2 separate regions of the Homo sapiens genome follow, and region 1 is linked to region 2. The links are contacts of gene promoters, found by promoter capture Hi-C in blood cells and fetal thymus (Javierre and others, 2016). All regions are on one chromosome and are shown on one strand. Each heading gives the region's core, a stretch centred on a gene start or on the middle of the fragment in contact. The rest is flanking DNA. Distances are from core to core; before and after follow the strand shown. Region 1 overlaps RAB11FIP4 (RAB11 family interacting protein 4). Region 2 holds the start of COPRS (coordinator of PRMT5 and differentiation stimulator).

What was found. The method cuts DNA at HindIII sites, captures the fragments that hold promoters and counts their contacts. A CHiCAGO score of 5 or more calls a contact.
Region 1: a fragment that was not itself captured here is called in contact with the fragment with the promoter of COPRS in region 2 in 1 of 17 cell types (neutrophils); the score reaches 6.7 in neutrophils.

The regions. Positions count from the first base shown.
Region 1 is chr17:31,474,085-31,480,205 of GRCh38, reverse strand. All of the region lies in intron 3 of RAB11FIP4 (RAB11 family interacting protein 4), which reads right to left. Among named protein-coding and RNA genes, the nearest start is that of MIR4724, 58 kb to the left of the region's middle. RefSeq lists an enhancer at 3,063-3,879. The HindIII fragment of the contact is 3,910 bases long and covers 378-4,287 here.
Region 2 is chr17:31,855,292-31,861,241 of GRCh38, reverse strand. COPRS (coordinator of PRMT5 and differentiation stimulator) reads left to right here and starts at 1,998. Exons shown (of 4, transcript NM_018405.4): 1 at 1,998-2,141; 2 at 4,377-4,443. The coding sequence starts at 2,043. UTP6 (UTP6 small subunit processome component) reads left to right here. Exons shown (of 19, transcript NM_018428.3): 19 at 1-338. RefSeq lists a silencer at 1,848-2,277 and an enhancer at 2,337-3,011. The HindIII fragment of the contact is 3,390 bases long and covers 374-3,763 here.

The DNA.
Region 1 (6,121 bases), core at 1,083-3,582, 380 kb after region 2:
TGTGCAGCCGCCGAGGGCTTGTGGGGTGAGAGGCCGTGTGGAGCAGTGGAGAAACAGTGGAACTCAGGGCCAGAAGACCTGGATTTGAGGCCTGGATCTGCCACATATTGGCTAAAGGCAAGTAACTTCACCGAGCCTCAGTTTCCTCCTCAGTCAAATGGAGAGAGTACAACCAACTTTGTAAGACTGGGAGATGCGTTAGAAGAGAAAAAGTCAAAGACTTTTGCCCCGTGTTTTGCAAATATGAGGACTTTAAAACAATTATCTAGGCCTATATAAACATGAAATCACAATGCATTAAAGCTGGAAGGGATCCCATTTCACCAATGGGAAACAGGCCGAGAGAGAAGAAATGACTTACCTATAGTCACAAAGCTTGCTAACGGCAGATGGACCCACACCAATCCTAGAAAAGGGAGGTGGTTGGGAGTAGAGTAGGTATGCTGTTTTTAGTACCAAACTTTTGGCCTCCTCTGTCCACCAGGCAAACTCCTATTCATCCTTCAAAACTCCACCCAGGTATGATTTCCCAGGTGATGCCTTCCCTGTCTTCTCCAGTGATAATAAATTATTCCTTGGCTTCATGATGTCTATGCCTCAATCACAAGCTGTGTTACTAAGAGGAACACACTGAATTGTCAGGATTGGCCTCCTGTCAGGTCCCCTACCATTCTGCAATTCCTGAGGACAGGGTCCATGCCCCTGGTGTCTTTGGACTTAAGCTCCTAACATGTCTGGCACACAGTAATCACCTGGGGAATGGTTAGGGCCCTGAATGGGACTGAGAATCCCTCACCCACAGACAATGGAAAGCTGAGGACTTGATTTTTGAATTAGCGGAAGCCTTTTCTGAAGTTCCTGAGATGGGCATTTGAAAGGTGAGAGACCTTCTCAAGTCAGGCTGCCCTCTTCCCAGACACATCAGATCTCAACTCTGAAGAAACAATTCCTCTACCTAATGGGAACCTTGGACAAGGGCCCTGAAACCAAGGAGAGAACATTTCCCTGCAGCCTATTGTTGATAACAGCTATGTACTATGTGCCAGCCACTTCATTTCTTAATTTAATCCAACAATCTTGTAGAGTAGATGTTACTGCACTCATGAAACAAATAAGGAAACTGAGGCTCAAGAGGATTAAGTGGTGGCAGAGACAAGATTTGTACCCAGATCTGGCCCACGTTCAGGACTCCCTTCTGCCTCTCTTGTTGCATCACTGGCTTACTTACAGCAACCGGAATTGCCTGGGAAGCAGCAGAAACTAATTGGTAAGGATGATTGAAGACCATGAGCAATTAAAGGCCTCAAGTTCCTCTTCATCATCCTTGGGTTGCAGGTGTCTGCTGTCCAGCTCAGCAGTGTCTCAGTCAGTGGCAGCCCACATCAGGTGTCTATGATTTGCCACATGCACCTCTGCAGTCCTACCTGCTGGCTTAGAGCTGAGGACTGGCCACTACCTGCTGTTGACTTGGCTGCTGCCTCCTGCCCCAGTTCTAAGCCCAGGGAGATGCATCCTGCCATTTCCCTGGCTGCTACCAGATAAGCTAAGCAGTATGAGGCCAGGGCTCCAGGGAGGGAGGGAAGGAAGCAGTATTTGTTGTCTTCAAAGACGTGTTTTGTGGAAACCCCATCCCACTCTGATAGCAAGAAATTGATCTGTGGTCAAATCAGCCGGTGAAATTCTTCACTCCCTCTTGAAGATGTCACAGGCACCTCTGCAGGAGAGAAGCCTCCCTAGCTTTTAACCCCAGGCTTCCTTAAGGCAACTGGGCTTGGACAGGACCCTTCTTATTTAACATTTAACAACACAAGGGATCAGTGTTCTGAGAAGAGCACACCTGGGCAAACAATGCACCAGGCTCCCAACACGCGCGGAAGGCAGACGTTATGTTCATCTTAAAGGTATTTACAGCTGGCCAGGCACGGTGGCTCATGCCTGTAATCCCAGCACTTTGGGAGACCAAGGCGGGTGAATCATTTGAGGTCAAGAGTTCGAGACCAGCCTGGCCAACATAGTGAAACCCCGTCTCTACTAAAAATACAAAAATTAGCCAGGTGTGGTGGTGGTCGCCTATAATCCCAGCTACTCAGGAAGCTGAGGCAGGGGAATCGCTTGAACCCAGGAGGTGGAGGTTGCAGTGAGCCGAGATCTAGCCACTGCACTCCAGCCTGGGTGACAGAGACTCTGTCTCAAAAAAAAAAAAAAAAAAGTATTAACAGCAAATGGCCACATAGCACTTAATATATACAAGCTCCGTTCTAGTGCTTCACATGATATGAGCTCATTTAATCCTCCCGACAACCCTACGAGGCAGGTATTATCCCCATTTTACAGATGGGGAAACTGAGGCTCAGAGAGGTTACTCAAGGACATACAGCTAGTAAGTTGAGAGCCAGGAGTCAAACCCAGGCAGCCTGGCTCCAGAGACTGTGCACCTAGCCGTTATCCTATGTAAAAAAGAGAGGCTCGGTTTTGTATAATAAAATAACTTCCCCAAAGTAACCATCATAGAACCAAGACCATTCATTCATTCACCCCGTCATTCATTTACTCAAACAAGAATCACTGAGCAGAAACCGCAGGCCAGACCTAGTGCTGGCCACCCAGAGACCAAGGAAGAACAAGGTGCAGCCTTGCTGTGGACCTGCCGGCTGCCTGTCCAGGCGCCTCTGACGCCCGCGCTGCTCTTCTCCCCACAGCTTGTCTGGGGACCTGGGGCTCTGCTGTCAGCTTCGCACCCTCCCAGCCGTGGCTTCTCATCTATATCTGATGGGTCAAGGAGGGTGGGCGGGGAGCACCCAGCTTCTCCCCAAGCCCAGGCTCCTTCCTCAGCCCCACAGGGGAGCACTGAGCCCCCCACCAGGTAAGTGCCCCCTCCTCACAGTCGTGTGGTTGCTCCCTGCCTGAGGAACACTCCAGGTGGCAGCCATTAGTCTCAGATTTAGCGGCCTCCTGAGAGGCGGGATGACAGTGGACGATGACGACTCTGAGTCTGTTCTGGGGTTGGAAGGACACACACTGAAGGGCTTGTAACTCCACTCTGAAAGCAGAGTCCCCCGCAATTGTCTCCTAAATTATCTCAGTGATGCTGGGATGAAGAAGTATCCCAAACCACAACACGCAAGCTACCCCACAAAAGACAGAAGAAGGGCTGCAGACTCTGCCCTGTGGAGAAGGTGGTGGGGCTGGGGAGAGGGCGGCTCCCTGGGGCCTGCCCAAGTTTATCCCCTGAATAAACAGGAGGCCACAGCAGACCGGATGGGCTGGTGTCGGGAGACTGGCTGGCCTCCGTGCTCAGTCACAGATGCCTCCTTTGTGCCTCCCCTGCCAGGGCTGGGCTGGGCAAAGGAAAACCAAAGGTGCCCGGCCTCTGGACACGGAGCCACTGTTCCACCCACTTAGGGGAAAACCACGGCCCAGCAACAGCTCTGTGGCTGCAGCCCAGGAGGGCTGAAGGAGCTTCTGTGTTCACGTAGAAACTGGAGAGGCCAGTGCAGTGGGGAGGCAGGCTGCTCATGGGGTGCCCTAAAAAAGAAACCTTTCTTCCAGGCCAGGTCCCCTGTGGTCCCCACTGGATCACAAGGCCACATTCATGGGGTGAAGCCCCCTAGTGCCCCACCAGCCCAGGTTTCAGCCCCAGCTCTGCTATTACTACCTGTAGCTCGTCTAGTCTCTTAGCCTTGGTTTCTTATGTGACCAACAGAGTTAATAGTACACACGAGGCCAGGCACGGTGGCTCACACCTATAATCCCAGCACTTTGGGAGCCCGAGGTGGGTGGATCCCTTGAGGTTAGGAGTTTGAGACCAGCCTGGCCAACATGGTGAAATCCCGTCTCTACTAAAAATACAAACATTAGCTGGGCGTGATGGCACGTGCCTGTAATCCCAGCTACTTGGGAGGCTGAGGCAGGAGAATCACTTGAACCCAGGAGGCAGACATTGCAGTGAGCCAAGATTGCACCACTGCACTCCAGCCTGGGTGACAGAGGAGGACACCGTATCAAAAAAAAAAAAAAAAAAAAAAAAAAAAAAGTTCAGTCGATTCTCATTATTTGCAGTAGTTATGCTCTATGAAGTCACTACAAACACAGAATCGTGAATACTGAACCATTGCCCCTAGGGGAAATACTGGTTCAATTCCTGTGAGCCTCTGATCACAACATTTTCATCAAACGATCAATGCATAACCTTGTTTTAAGCATGTCTCTGTTTAAAGACACTATATTTAATACATATTGTTGATTCATTAACATTGAACTCACTGTAGCTCATGCCTGGGCAAAGCTTATCTAACACTCAGTCGTTATTTTCTCCACAAGGCACGTCCCAGCCTTCTTGCATTTAGGAACACTAGACAGCCTTTGGGGGCCATTTCAAATAGCAAAATCGCCAAAAAAAAAAAAAACCACACAAAAATGCAGAAAACGTGGCACTAACTAGACCGTGAAGAGGACACTTGTTTACAGTATGAGAGCTGAAACAAGAAGGCCGCTTGTCGCCTTGTTTGACCTCAGCTGGGAACATGCACGTTGGGCAACTCACATCTTCACCACCGTGAGAATGTTTGCAAATGATCACAAAGGCTCTGCGAGTATTGATTTTGGTGTTACAAATGAATTTCAGCAAGCAGGCAAATTTGCAAATACAGAATGTGCAAGTAATAAGGACCAACTGTATCTGTGTCACAGGGGTTTTGAGGGATGGCTTGTTAAATGAAAGAATGCACGACGAATGCTTAAGCGTAGCAACAGCTCACATCTTTTTACTGTAACTAGTATTATTTGCTGAACCTACCACGTCTTGACAGCTTAGAATGTCTTTCTTTGTGCTTTTTCCAGTGAATGAAGCCCAGAGTCAGGTTTGAAGCGCACCAGTGCCCTTTGCAGCTGGGAGACTTGCAGGTTAAGCTGACTCTCCTCTCTTCTTGTCTTCTCATCTCCAGCACTGCTTCCCACCACTCACTCACAGCCAGTGACCATGCCCAGTGACCTCCCCACCAGCTCTACACACCAACCTGCACAGGTGCCTCTACTCTGCCTTCTTCTTGATACAAAGCATTATTCACAGATGGACCCTTCCATGTGGGCCCTGGACCCCATCCCCTTCAAGGTTTTGCTCCTGCCCTCCCCTTCTGAATCATCCATTTCTCCTTCTCTATGAGTTCCTCTCCTCACCACATTATGCCCCTGGCTTTAAACGTTCCTTCAAGTTCCTCCCTGAACACCACAGCGGTTGAAATGAACTAACTAGAGTGTCACGGGTCCTCATCTTACCTTAACAATCCTCATAGCACCTGGTGAGGTGAATCTCTGTTTTTTTTTTGTTTTTTGTTTTGTTTTGTTTTGTTTTGTTTTGTTTTTTGAGACAGTGTTTCGCTCTGTCGTGCCCAGGCTAGAGTGCAGTGGTGCAATCTTGGCTCACTGCAACCTCCACCTCCCGGGTTCAAGCTATTCTCCTGCCTTAGCCTCCCAAGTAGATGGGATTACAGGCACCGGATCTCTCCTTTAAACACTTTCTCTCTTTTTTTTTTTTTTTTGAGATGGAGTCTAGCTCTGTCCCCCAGGCTGGAGTGCAGTGGCGCAATCTCAGCTTACTGAAGCCTCTGTCTCCCAGGTTCAAGTGAATCTCCTGCCTCAGCCCCGAGTAGCTGGAACTACAGGCATGCACCACCACACCTGGCTAACTTGTGTATTTTCAGTAGAGATGGGTTTCATCATATTGGCCAGGCTGGTCTCAAACTCCTGACCTTAAGTGATCCACCCTCCTCGGCCTCCCAAAGTGCTGGGATTACAGGTGTGAGCCACCGCACCTGGTCCCTTTAAACCTTTCTTAGCTTGGTTCCAGGGCACCACCCCTCCAACCTCCTCAGCTCTCAAGGTTGGCATGCTCTGTGCTTCAATCCTCTTCCCTTCTCACCTAGCCTGAGACTTTAAATTCCACCAGTGCTGATGTCCCCACCCCACATTGTTGCCACCCAGCCTAGACCTCTTCCTGGAGCTCCGAACTAAATGCATCCAATTGCCTGTGAGGAAGTTGACTGGGGAATGTCTTAGGGCTTGGCCTGTGAGGGCACAAGGGATGCAGGATGGGCAGAGGGAGAAGTGGATTGCATTGCAGCTG
Region 2 (5,950 bases), core at 749-3,248:
TTTTTTTTGAGACAGAGTCTTGCTCTGTGGTCCAGGCTGGAGTGCAGTGGTGTGGTCTTACTGCAACCTCTGCCTCCTAGGTTCAAACAGTTCTCCCTGCCAAAGCCTCCCAAGTAGCTGGGATTATAGGCACCTTTTGTGGCGATTTTTGATGCCCAGAGGTATTTTGTGTGTGTATGTGTGATGTCTGTTTTTAAAATGCTTTGGAAGCTCTTCCTGGTGCTGAGAACAACTCTTTTTCCCCAAGCAGTTAATTTTGCCAACACTATTTGGGCAGTTATGTTTCTCTCTGCTGATTTGTGATGTTACCTTTATTATATATTAAATTTCTATGAGTATTAGAGTCTACTTTAGAACATTTTTATTTTAAGCTTTTGTACTGTTTTCTTTTTCTTTCTGGTTTTTTTTTTTTTTAGACCAAGTCTCACTCTGTCGCCCAGGCTGGAGTGCTGTGGGGCAATCTCTGCTCACTGCACCCTCCACCTCCCGGGCTCAAGTGATTCTCCTGCCTCAGCCTCCCGAGTAGCTGGGATTATGGGTGTGTGCCACCACGCCTGGCTAATTTTTGTATTTTTAGTAGAGATGGGGTTTCACCATGTTGGCCAGGATAGCCTTGAACTGACCTCAAGTGATCTGCCTGCCTCGGCCTCCCAAAGTGCTGGAATTACAGGAGTGAGCCACCGCGGCCAGCCCCTGTTTTCTTGTCATTTGTTTTAAAATAAGAAAAAAATTCCTCTTTTTCCTGTCCCTTAAGTCCTGGGATGTTTAACATTCTTAATCTTATTTGGCACTTTAATTTTACGAAAGAGATATGTAGATTAGGGAGCAAAGAGGATAGTGGTAGTCTCCTTAACACAAGGCTATAAGGGTGGTCACCTGGGGTCATCACATCCCTGTATCTGATTCTCAATATTGCAGGTTATGAAAACACATCTAGCTAGTACACCTAGAGTTGCACTGTTAGAAACAGTAGCTCCAAGGCACATGTAGCAATTTAAATTTATTAGAATTATTCAATTTATTCACATTGGCCACATTTCAAGTGCTCAGTAGGTATATGGTTACTATATTGGACAGTACAGATAGTAGAACTTTCATTTCCACTTCCACCATTAAAGAACGTTCTATTGGACATTGCTGACCTAGAGGCAGTTAGCCTTGGGGATACTGACTCCTGTGTAGGAACATCTACATATAGAACAAAAATAATATCGAATATTGTGTGTCAGTTTTATGCTAAATTTTTTCAAATGCCTTTTGTGTTGTACAAACAACACAGTCTTTGAGGGGGATGAAGGAAGAGGGTCTCATGTCCTGATGTTGACGTGATTAGCACACCTTGAGCTGGTTTGTTATTAGAGGTTAGGCACTGTGGGGAAGGCAGGGAAGGCTGTCTTTCCAGTTGGGCTGTTCCCAGCTCAGGCCCTGCCTATCCCCAGAAGCCACCTTTCGAGGCAAAATGGGAAATAATTAGGTTGTCGGTATCAGGCGTTGAGCATGGAAATACAGGAATCCCGAATGTTCAGGATTATTATGAGTAAGCGTCGTGGCCTGTATTCTGTGTCCACTGCATATTGCAGTTTGTGTCTTAATCATCTATCTTGGTTTCTAATGGATTAACTTCAAAGACGATCATTAGCTCAAGGTGGAGGTCACTGGGTTGCTCATGTGTCTTACCCACGCGGGGTTTTGAAGCTGGAGCACACCCCGAGTGGCCGAGTAGGGTACGCTTGGCGTTTCACACGCAGCTAGTCGTGCAGCCTTAGGATATGCACCGAGAGGAGTTTCCAAAATCCGTCTCCGAGATTGTTTCAGATTTCGCGCTGGGAGGGAGGGGCGGGCTCCGCGAGGCCGCGCGCCCCGCCCCCTGCGCCGCCCCGCCCCCGCTTGCTCGTGACACCCCCGCGCCCCGCCCTCTTGGCCGGTACCCACCCCCTCCCCAGGCTGATTGGCGCTTCTGCGGCGGATCCTCGGGCGGGCAGCCGGGCCGGCGCGTCACGTGGCCCACGGCGTCCAGGGCGACCAGCCGCGGGCCGCAGGGCATGGACCTTCAGGCCGCCGGGGCCCAGGCGCAGGGGGCCGCGGAGCCGTCTCGGGGCCCGCCGCTGCCTAGCGCGCGGGGGGCGCCCCCCAGCCCGGAGGTGAGCGCCGCGTGGGGGCCAGGAGCAACAGCCAGCCGCAGCCTGGGGCGGGAAGTCGCGGGGCCGGGCTGGGCGGGGGCCGCGGGGCCGGGGAAGCGCCTCTGGCCGGCCTCGGGCCGCCCCGCGACACGGAGCGCTGTTTGGGCTCGCGCTCGAGCTGAAAACGGCCAGGCCGCGGGGCCGCGGGGCTGCGGGGCGGGGAAAGCCGAGGGCGTGGGTGGGCGCTCTGGGTCAGCAGAGACGGCTGTCCGCCCGCTGGGCGCCGCTGCGGATTTGGTAAATGGGAGGTGACGCTGGTGACCGAGAGCCGGGGCCCGCTGCCAGGAGCCTGGGCGAGGGCCAGGTGAGGGCGGCGAGGAGAGGGACTTGACTTTACAGACCTGTGGACCTCTGTCCGTTGGTGGGGATGCCAGCTAACCCTGAGCCCCAGATGTCACATGCGCGCTCCCCCTTCTCCTTACTGAAACCAGAAAGGCCCTGTTTGACGCAGGGTTTCCAGAAACTTGTTTTCATGTAAGCTAGACAGCTCCTGGTTTTCCCGAGAACGTTACAGACCGTTATTACAGTTCTTACCTGTCCTTGTTTACAGTCTGTACCGGCTAGGTGCTGAGCGGCTTGAAGGTAGGAACCCTCTGTTAGGGCTGTTTGCACAGCCTAGCATAGTGCCTGGCACAGGAGATAGACATACCGACTGGATGAATGATGCCTCAAAGATGGTACTTAGCCAAAGTAAGATATGAAAAATGCAGCGACACTTACAAAGAAAATTACTTTGGAGTGCAGAATAGAATGGGACTAATTTTGTCAGGGCATAGCAGGAAAGGATCAAGGTGAGAGGCTGGTGGTGTCTGCAGAGGCGTGGAGATGAGAAAGTGCAGGGCACATGGCCTGGAGTTGGGTCTCAGAGCATGCAGAGAACTATGCTCAACAGGTTGATGGGAGTGGGAGAAGAGGGGACGTGCGAATGCCATGGCTAATTTTGTGCTCTCTCAGTGGAGGGCTGTTGAAGGTTTTGAGCAGAGTAGTGATTAATTCTGTAAGGCTGGGCCAGATGGCTGGATGGGAAGGTGGTTAGGAGGCCGTGGCAGTGGTTTAGGTGAGAGGTCTGACTTCTCCTTGGGCGGCAGTGACCAGAGGTTGTCACTAACTACAGGGAGTGGAACTGAATTATTAAACCCAGACATGACTAGATAATGAATGCTGATTGGAGCAGGTGCCGAGTACAGTTTAGATGTAGCAGAAAAGATGAATTTAAATTCAAGAAATGTTACATTCTTGCCACATGCCAGGTGTTTTCATAAATGGTGTCTAATCATAAGTCCCCTGCAGGGTCAGAACAGTCACCCCTAATTTCTGGAGAAGAAAACTCAGGCACAGTAATTGAAGTGATGTGTTCAAGGTCACACTCTGAATGGATGGCAGAGCTGGGATCAAAATCAGGTCTTTTATGCAGGCAGGGAACATTTCGTGATTCATTAGAAAGAGGTCTTGGAGGTCATAGGGTTTCAGGAACTTCTGAGTGATGGGAGCAGAGAAGCATTTGGTTGGCTGTGCGGGAAGATTTTCAGTTAGATTAGAAATACTGCCTTCAGTGCTCAGCATTGCAGAGGAATTATAAAGCTTCCCCCACCTCAGTGTGTTGGTGAGGAAACAGAGAATTTGATAGAGTTGTTTACTAGCTATAAAGTTGTTAAGTAACTGAAAAGGTAAAACGTGTACCTGGGGGTGGCAACCGCAGGGAACAGCTACCAACCTATGGCTGAAGGAACAAAGAGATGAAGTTGATTAAAATTTAAAAGCTTAGGGAAAAGGCTCTGCAGAGCTGAAATTCCAACCTTTAAGGAGAAGGCACTGCCCCAGCTGATGGTAGGGGGTCTCTGAGCTTGGAGGAGAGTCCTGAGACCCAGACCTCTAAAGAGAAGGTGCAGTGATAAGACTGGCTCTGCAAGAGTTCGCAGAACTGTATACTGGATTCTGTGGCCACTATAGGAAGGCATTCCTGCTGCCACGGTGAAGTGTCATGAGGTGATGCCTACATGAATAGGAAGGAACAAGGCCCATCTCCCTCCAGCCTTGCTCAGTTTAACAGGGCAAAGTAGAAATGTGGGTGGCAGAGTCCCAGCCCTGCATCACCAAGGGGAGTATGGAAGAGTGGGTGGGGTTGAGATGCAATAGCTGAATACTGGGCATACCCCAGATACCCAAGTCCTTGGTAATCATTTCTTCTTCCTGCAGGCTGGCTTTGCTACAGCTGACCACTCCAGTCAGGAGAGAGAGACTGAGAAGGCTATGGATCGACTAGGCAAGTAGATGGCAGAGACGGAAGTTGGGGAGACCAAGGATGTGAGGAGAGGAATAGTCCCTCTGTCTCATTTACCTTCTCTTTTAGCCAGTCCTCTCTGCTGCTTAGTGGCCTTCTCTGCCCAGTTGAACAGTAACCTCCTTTGGAAGCCTTGCTTGGAGCTTCCTTAAGGGAAGTCCTGAACTTTTCTTATGTTCAAATCCATCCTTCTACCGAGAGAAACAGCTTGAAACGGTGAAAATAGTACAGCAGTCTCACCTTATTCCTAGGGGATACATTCTAAGACCCCCCCGCCCCAATGGATGCCTGAAACTGCTTTTTTTTCCTCCTATATATACTATTTCTGATATGGTTTAACTTATAAATTATGCATATGTGATTAATAACAATAGTAATATAGAACAATTATGCCAGTATACTGAAAGTTACGTGAATGTGTTCTCTCTCAAAATATCTTTTTTTTTTGAAACGGAGTCTCGCTGTGTCACCAGGCTGGAGTACAGTGGCACGATGTCAGCTCACCGCAACCTCCGCTTCCCAGGTTAAAGCAATTCTCCTGCCTCAGCCTCCCGAGTAGCTGGAACTACAGGCACGCGCCACCACACCCAGCTAACTTTTGTATTTTTAGTAGCTATGGGGTTTTACTATGTTGGCCAGGCTGGTCTCGAACTCCTGATCTCAAGTGATCTGCCCACCTAGGCCTCCCAAAGTGCTGGGATTACTGTGAGCCCACGCTCCCAAAGTGCTGGGATTACAAAGGCATGAGCCACTGTGCCCAGCCCCCTGCCGTTTTTTTTTTTTTTTGAGAGGGAGTTTTGCTCTTGTTGCCCAGGCTGGAGTGCAATGGCACAATCTTGGCTCACTGCAACCTCTGCCTCCTGGATTCAAGCATTCTCCTACCTCAGCCTCCCAAGTAGCTGGATTACAGGCATATGCCACCATGCCCAGCTAATTTTTGTATTTTTAGTAGAGATGGGGTTTCACCATGTTAGCCAGGCTGGTCTCGAACTCCTGACCTCACCTGATCCATCTGCCTCAGCCTCTCAGAGTGCTGGGATTACAGGTGTGAGCTACCACGCTTGGCCCCTTTTTTTCTTTTTCTTTTTTTTTTTTGAGATGGAGTCTCACTCTGTCACCCAGGCTGGAGTGCAGTGTCGCAATCTTGGCTCACTGCAACCTCTGTCTCCCGGGTTCAAGTGATTCTCGTGCCTCAGCCTCCTGAGTAGCTGGGATTACAGGCGTGCACCATATCGCCTGGCTAATTTTTGTATTTATTTATTTATTTATTTATTTATTTTTTGAGACGGAGTCTCGCTCTGTCTCCCAGGCAGTGGCACTATCTCGGCTCACTGCAAACTCTGCCCCCTGGGTTCACACCATTCTCCTGCCTCAGCCTCCCGAGTAGCTGGGACCACAGGCACCCGCCACCACGCCTGGCTAATTTTTTGTGTTTTTAGTAGAGATAGGATTTTACCTTGTTAGGATGGTCTCGATCTCCTGACCTCGT